Regions from separate parts of the Homo sapiens genome. Here region 2 is linked to region 1. The links are contacts of gene promoters, found by promoter capture Hi-C in blood cells and fetal thymus (Javierre and others, 2016). All regions are on one chromosome and are shown on one strand. Each heading gives the region's core, a stretch centred on a gene start or on the middle of the fragment in contact. The rest is flanking DNA. Distances are from core to core; before and after follow the strand shown. Region 1 holds the start of PRLHR (prolactin releasing hormone receptor). Region 2 overlaps LINC03036 (long intergenic non-protein coding RNA 3036).

What was found. The method cuts DNA at HindIII sites, captures the fragments that hold promoters and counts their contacts. A CHiCAGO score of 5 or more calls a contact.
Region 2: a contact is called between a fragment that was not itself captured here and the fragment with the promoter of PRLHR in region 1, in 1 of 17 cell types (M1 macrophages). The highest score is 5.1, in M1 macrophages.

Annotation. Positions count from the first base shown.
Region 1 is chr10:118,593,296-118,597,285 of GRCh38, forward strand. PRLHR (prolactin releasing hormone receptor) reads right to left here and starts at 2,353. Exons shown (of 2, transcript NM_004248.3): 1 at 2,221-2,353; 2 at 1-1,955. The coding sequence starts at 1,949. The coding sequence ends at 837. RefSeq lists enhancers at 1,312-2,120, 2,121-2,929, 2,930-3,738. The HindIII fragment of the contact is 5,195 bases long and covers 1-3,550 here.
Region 2 is chr10:118,988,291-118,992,280 of GRCh38, forward strand. All of the region lies in intron 2 of LINC03036 (long intergenic non-protein coding RNA 3036), which reads right to left. Among named protein-coding and RNA genes, the nearest start is that of LINC03036, 39 kb to the right of the region's middle. The HindIII fragment of the contact is 2,749 bases long and covers 508-3,256 here.

The DNA of each region.
Region 1 (3,990 bases), core at 1,103-3,602:
GGCAAACACTGAATGTGTACCCACACATACACACACATACACAAACACACATACACAGAGGATGTCTGTCCTTAGGTACAATTGAATGACCTCTTAAGTGAATTGGACCTTTTCCTCTTTATTTATCTATCTCTTCATTGACTAATTCGTCTCATCATTTTTAAATAGTAGTTGGGGAGGAAAGGGGAGAAACAATAGCAAGACCTTTCTAAAGGGAGCTTGTAGGTGTTTTTGTACTATAAACTCAAGTGGTTTTAAAACGAAACCCTTTTGGCATATAAAGGTCTTACTCAGGAAATGCTGAAATCCTAGATGTAGAGTTTTAATACATATTTACCTGAAATTCTAGGAATGCAAGGGTTCAAATGGACTAAGCAATATCATGGTACTCTCAGCTGGGTCCTTTTTCTAAAGGCAAACTGAAAATCTTTACCAAGCCCAATGCATTCCTTTTAAATCCCATTCATATTGTTCATTTCACCAACGAGCAGGAGGAGGGGACGCCAGGAAGGCAATCGTGGTTCTGAAATACTTTTCTGAACGTGGAGAAAAAGTTTTGTTTGTCCTTCAAGGGCATAAAGAAGAAATAAGAAATCCTCTTCCCTCTCTTTGGCCTCCCCCAAGCAAAGAGCAAGACTCTCACCAAAGCCCGCTTAACATTTTACAAACACACAAGGACAAGACAGACAGCCGGACAAGAGGGCTGGGCTGGAAATGTTGCCCTATGTTGGCTTAGCTAGCTCTGGTGCTGAGAATAAGCACCAGATTGACCTCGAGTGGTGCCCTAGGAGGCCAGTTGAAGTGGAGCTCCTTGACCAAGGCCTGGCTAAGTGGCATCAGATGACCACGCTGACGGTCATATTCTGGCCATGGGGGGCTATCTTGCGGGGCCAAGCGACCAACAGTTTGCGCAGCTCCTCGCGGAAGCTGTCGTGCAGCCAGGCGTAGATGAAGGGGTTGTAGCAGGCCGAACTCATGGCGAGCCAGTGGCAGAGCAGCTGCACCAGCCCAAAGGCGTAAGGGTCGATGGCGTGGGGGTCGAGGTCCCGCAGCAGGTTGAAGACGTGCAGCGGCAGCCAGCAGACGGCGAACACCACCACGATCACCACCAGCAAGCAGAAGGTGCGCCGGCGCCGAGCGCGGTCCCAGTCGGCCTGGCTCTGGGTCACGCAGCCCGGCACCACGCGGTTGCGGAGCTTCACTGACACCCGGACGTAAGACAGGAGGATGACCAGCAGAGGGAGCAGGTAGGTGACCAGCAGCAGCCCCCAGGCGTAGAGCTGGCGCTGGCGCTCCTGGGAGCCCCAGAACTCCTCGCAGAGGCGCACGTCGTGCGGCTTGAGCTCCACGTGATAGGTGTGCACGGCGGCGGGCAGCGCCAGCACCGCGGACAGCGCCCAGATGGCCAGCACAGCGTAGGCGCTGAGGCGCAGCGAGATGCGCCGCCTCAGCGGGTGCACCAGCACGACGTAGCGGTCCACTGCGATGGTGGTGAGCGTGAACACCGACACATAGACGGTGACCGGCTGCAGGAAGAAGACCAGGTGGCACAGGCCGCCGCCGAACACCCAGCCGCGTGGCTCGAAGGCATAGGCCAGCGTGAGCGGCACGCAGGCGGTGCACATGAGCACGTCGGACAAGGCCAGGTTGCCGATGAGGAAGTTCGTCACGTTGTGCAGCCGGCGCACCCGCGCGATCACCAGCACCAGCAGGCAGTTGCCCACCAGCCCCACGACCACCACGACGCTGTAGAGCAGCACGATCAGCCCCTTCAGCTGATGCACCAGCTGCAGGCTCTGGAAGGGCGTGACGGCTGGAGCGTCCGCGCCAGCCACCGACCCGTTGCCCGCCGAGGCCTCTGCGCTCTGGTTGGCGGGAGTTGTGACCGCCGGCGGCAGCCCAGAAAATAAGTCAGAAACCCTGGGGCCCCGAGTGGTCGATGAGGCCATGGCCACCTGTTCAAAGGTAATCAAAGTCCGTCACTTCCCTTGCCATACTCCATCCGACCTCCTACACCAGCCGCGCCCCTCCCCCATCGCCTGAGTCCTCCCTTGGGAATAACCGGCCACAGAACAACAGCAAAAGTAGCAAAAAGTGTTGTCCTCTCACCTCTGTAAAATAAACCTAAGCACGGTTAGAACATACGGTTTATTTAAACGCTTCCGCCTCTATTTACGGTCCTCGCAGTCCACGCAGGCAGACTCAGGAGCGCGATCCTACCTGGGAGTGGGGTTTGGAGAGCGGGAAAGCACTCGCGGGAAGAAGGGGCAGAATTTCTGCTGGCCCTCGGTAGTCCTCTGCCCACGTCGGTGATCCGGTCTCGCTTCTCCGCGGGAGCTGAACGGATCCAAATGTTTCCCAGTGGGCTAGCAGCTTCTTAGAGGGACTGGGAGCGCCTCCCCTCAGCTCCGCCCCCCACTCCAGCTCCCATGTATGGAAAATAGGGGTGGAGCGCGCTCTGCCATGCTCGGTGCTTAGAGAACTAGTGAAGAGGACAGTGTGGGGAGGATGGAATCCGAAACGGGAGGAGGGGCCGGCAAACCTGGCCAGAGCAGCGAAGAGGACGAATCTCTACTGCAGGAGCTTGCACGGCCCCTGGAGGGTCAGGGTCCGGAGGAGCGCACAGTGGAGGAGGGCGGAGGAGAGGCGCGAAGCGTCAGGCTATCGGGAGGAGCCGGTGCAGTCTTAGGAGGGAAGGAGCGGGGAAGGAAGTAGCGGTGGGAGATTGCAATGCAGCTGGGGGCTTGAGAGAGGCACGACTGACCCGTTCTTAAAGGCTGGATCCTGCCTAGCGGCCAGGTTGCGGAGGGCAGAGACGCTAGAGGGCTCGGGCTGGGATTTAACAGCAGAGCCTGGAGCTGGTCGCGGACCTGAGGACCCTCACCCTCCCGTGGCCCCGCCACACGAGCCCCCTGCTTGGCTGCAGCGCGCTCAGCGGGCAGCGGGTCCGGCCAAGCCAAAGGCAGGAGTCAGCACCACGGACAGCTTCCGCTGGATCTGCCGCCCCTCGGGCGGATGATGTGGGGAGGAGCAGGGGAAAATGACTAGGGAATTCCTGCCCCTCTCTGGATCCGGGTGTTTGGGGAAGGAACCTGGTCCGGTTCAAAGACCTGCCTCGCTGCCTGCTTTCTGGGCTGGGGCTGAGAAGAGTAGGGTGGAGTGGAGGCAGCTGAGCCGGGGGCCTGGGGGTCGGAGACTCATGACTTTTGCTCCTCTTGGTGGTCACCGCACTCAGTGCCAAGGACGGCGTCGTCTTTTACCTCCCGGGGTCAGAAAATGCAGCTCTCCTGCCAGTTATTCTACACAGGCACACTTCAGTCTGGCCCAGCGACTCCCCGGCTCACCCTTTCTCTCGCTTTCTTTCTCGGCTACCGCGACCTGTGCCGTATCTGGCTGCTTCTCCCAGCACAGAGTAGTTCCTGGACTGAGACTTGACCCCTCCCTCCTTGACTGAACACCCACAGGCCTCTTCTCTTCATTTTAGGATTTTTTAAAAATACTGGTAATTGCAGATTTCAGCTAGGGTAACAAAAGTAACAAACATTTGAGAAGCTTAGGCGTTTCATAAAATCTTCAGTAGTATTAAGTCCTCATTGAAATGCAAATTAGCCTGGCCCACGGGGCAAGAGCCAGGGGAGGAGGGGCCTTTGTAAGCTCCCTCCTTAGAAGCTATCTCATTCCCTCAGCCTCTTGTTTCCTTTTTCCAGAGCATGGAGCTTCATTGTCTCCTCTCTGATAAGTCCTTGTACTTTGTCCTCTGGCTGCAGATATTCCAGTTAGACTGGAAACTAATATCAATTTATTCCACCCTCCAAATTTAAATGAATCACTCATATAGAAAAAAGTCAATATTGGAACAAAAGTAATCAATGTTATGCACCTCTGTCCATCCTAAGCTCACGGTCCCTGAGTTATAATCAATTTAGCTAAAACCAGTGTGTGTGTATATATACATGTATATGTTAGGACAAGATCTCACTCTGTCACCCA
Region 2 (3,990 bases), core at 632-3,131, 390 kb after region 1:
GGAAAAAAACCACATGATCATCTCAATTGATGCAGAAAAAATAGCATGTGACAAAATTCAACAGCCTTTCATGACAAAAAAAAAAAAAGCCTCAACAAAGTAGGAATGCAAAAAATAAATAAATAAATACCTCAGTTGGCCAGGGGCAGTGGCTCATGCCTATAGTCCCAGCACTTTGGGAGGCCAAGGTGGGTGGATCACCTGAGGTCAGGGGTTCGAGACCAGCCTGGCCAACATGGTGAAACCCCGTATCTACTAAAAATACAAAATTAGCCAAGCATGGTGACACATGCCTGTAATCCCTGCTACTTAGGAGGCTGAAGTCAGAGAATTGTTTGAGCCTGGGAGGCACAAGCTGCAGTGAGCCAAGAGTACACTGCACTCCAGCCTGGGCAACAGAGTGAGACTCCGTCTAAAAAAAAAAAAAAAAAAAAAAAACCTCAATATAATAAAACCCATTTATGAAAAACCCACAACAAATGTCATACTCAATGGTAAAAGACTAAAAGCTTGTTATCTAAGATCAGGAAGAAGGCAAGGATGCCCACTTTTGCCACTTCAACATAGCAGTGGAAATTCTAGCAAGAGAAATTCGTCAAGAAAAAGAAATAAAAACATCCAATTGGAAAAAAAAAAAGAAGCAAAATTATCTCCGTTCAGAGATGATATGATTTTCATATGTAGAAAACCCTAAGTATTTCACCCAAAAAAAAGCTGGAACTAATAAATGAATTCAGCAAAGTAGTAAGATACAAAATCAACACACAAAAACTAGTTGCATTTCTAAACACTAACAATGCGCAATCTGAAATGGAAATTACAAAAACAATTCCATGTACAACAGTAACAAAATGAATAGAATACTTAGGAATTAACCAAGGGGGTGAAAGATTTGTAGAATGAAAACTACAAAACATTGCTGAAATAAAGAAGACATAGGCTGGGCACGGTGGCTCATGTCTATAATCCCAACACTTTGGGAGGCTGAGGTGAAAGGATCACCTGAGCCCAGAAGTTCAAGACCAGTCTGGGAAACATAGTGAAACCCCATCTTTACAAAAAAGAAAAAATACAAAAATGCGACAGACGTGGTGGCACACACCTGTAGTCTCAGCTACTCAGGAGGCTGAGGTAGGAGGATTCCCTGAGCCCTGGAGGTTGAGGCTGCAGTGAGTCATGATTGCACCACTGCACTCCAGGCTGGGCAACAGAGTGAGACCCTGTCTCAAAAAAAAAATAATAAAAATAAGTGAATAAATAAAATAAAGAAGACATAAATAAATGGAAACACATCCCACATTCATGGATTGGAAAACTACTACTACTAAGATGTCAATACTACCCAAAGCAATCTACAGATTCAATGCAATCCCTAACAAAATCCTAATGATGTTTTTCAAAGAAATAGAAAACCCCATCCTAAAATTCACATGGAATCTCAAAGGACCATGAACAGCCAAAACAATCTTGAAAAAGAACAGCAAAGCTGGAAAATTCATACTTCCTGATTTCAAACTTACTACAAAGCTATGGTAATCAAACCAGTGTGGAACTGGCATAAAGATAACATATAGACCAATGGAATAGAGAGCCCAGAAATAATAAACCCTCACATGGGGTTTATTAATTTTTTTTTTTTGAAACAGAGCTTCACTCTTGTCGCCTAGGTTGGAGTGCAGTGGCGGGACCTCGGCTCACTGCAACCTCTATCTCCTGGGTTCAAGCGGTTCTCGTGCCTCAGCTTCCTGAGTAGCTGGGGTTACAGGAGCCCACCACCATGCCTGGCTGGTTTTTGTATTTTTAGTAGAAACAGGGTTTTACCATGTTAGCCAGGCTGGTCTCAAACTCCTGACCTCAGGTGATCCACCCACCTCAGCCTCCCAAAGTTGCGGGATTGCAGGCATGAGCCACCCTGCCCAGCTGGATTTACTGATTTTTGACAAAGGTGCCAAAACCATTCCATGGCAAAAGACAGTTTATTCAACAAATGGTGCTGGGAAATCTGAACATCCACAAGCAAAAGAATGAAACTGGACCCTTACCTAACACCATATACAAAAATTAACTAAAAAATGGATCAAAGACCTAAATGTAAGACCTAAAACTATAGATGCTTAGAAGAAAACATAGGGCTCAGAGAGCTCAGGAGAAAGGAGAATAGGGAGTTAGTGTTTAATGGGTATAGAGTTTCAGTTTTACAGCATGAAGAGTTCTGGAGGTAGATGGTAATGATATTTGCACATCATTATGAAGGTCTGTAATAGTAGATGCAAAAGTAATTGCTGTTTTGCCATTACCTTTAATGGGAAAAACTGCAATTACTTTTATGCCAAATTAATACGTTGATATAACTGTACACTTAAAAATGTTTAAAATGTTAAAATTTGTTATGTGTATTCCACTACAATTTTTTAAATGGAAAAAAAAAAAGGAGAAGGAGATGAAGGATTAAGACAGACACACAGGGAGGGAAGATGGCAATCTACAAGCTAAGAAGAGAGGCCTCAAAAGAAACCAATCCTGCCCACACCTTGATTTTGGAATTCTAGCCTCCAGAATTGTGGGAAAAGTAATTTCTGTTGCTTAAGTCACCCAGTCTGTGGTACCTTGCTAGGAGATCCCTAGAAAACTAATACACTCATCTATGAGCCTTGCTGGGAGACAGAGCCCAACCCCCACTGCAGAAGCAAAAAAATGCCAGGTTCTCATCTTGGATTGGTCAAACAAATACATCTTGAACTTTAAGTGGGAGGCTGGTGACATCGAGAAGCAGAGAACCCAGTTTGGTGGATGTCACAGGAACACCAGATTTCCAGGAGCTGCACAACATATAGTTGCTGTGGTCCCCTGTCTGCAGCAGACACAGGTGTGTCGATACACCTGGCCATCCTTTGGTGGTCCCACCAGAGTGCTGATGGCATAGTGCCTCATTGTGGTCAAGTGAGCTGGCATCCCCACTGTACAGAAAAGGTTCACACAGCAGGCCTGAGACTTCTGTCCTTAGAAAGGGCTGCTTGAAAGACTGTCCCTGGGCTGGTATCTGGGAACTTGGATTTGGGGAGTATTTTCCCTATTCGCTAACTGTTAAGACGGGCTAATCAGTTTGTCAATTAGGGAATGCTTAAATGTTTGTACAATGTGGTTTATGCTAGACACCTGCTTTCCTTCTGAGGGTCTGGTAATTTGATACATGCTAGGCAAAGAGTGCCTATGAAATTGACCCTTCATAAAAACCCTGGACTCCTAGGCACAGACAAGCTTCCCCAGTTTACAACATTCACACCTGTTCTCTCAGTCTGATGCTGGAGAAATTAAGCATATCCTATGGACTCCGCTGGGAGAGGACGCTTAGAAGCTTGCACCTCGTTTCCTCCAGGTTTTGTCCAACGCATTTTTTCCATTTACTATTTCTCTTTGTATCGGTTTGCTGTGATAAATCCTAGCCATAGGTATGACTGTATGTTGAGCCCTATGAGTCCTTCTAGCAATTCACCAAACATGAAAGTAATCTCGGAAATGCCTGTAAGGACACACTGTGAATCCAAAATATCTGAGACAGATCTCAATCAATATAGAAAAGCTTATTTTGCCAAGGTTAAGGACGTACCCACAACACAGCCTCAGGAGGTTCTGATGACCACATGCCCAAGGTGGTCAGGATACAGCGGGCTTTTATACATTGTAGGGAGACATGAGACATCAATCAATATGTGTAAGATGTACATTGGTTTGGTCCAGAAAGGGAGGACAACTCGAAGCGGGAGGGCTTCCAGGTCATAGGTAGATAAGAGACAAAAGGTTGTCTTCTTTCGAGTCTTTGATCAGCCTTTCACTGGATACAGTTTAGTCTGGCTCAGTGAATCTGCATTTTACATCAGCAGAGGAAGCAATCAGATACGCATTTGTCTCAGGTGAGCAGAGAGATGACTTTCTGTCCCACACCTGTGAAGATAAGCTATCAGTTTACATTGCCAGGGTGAAATTCAACGG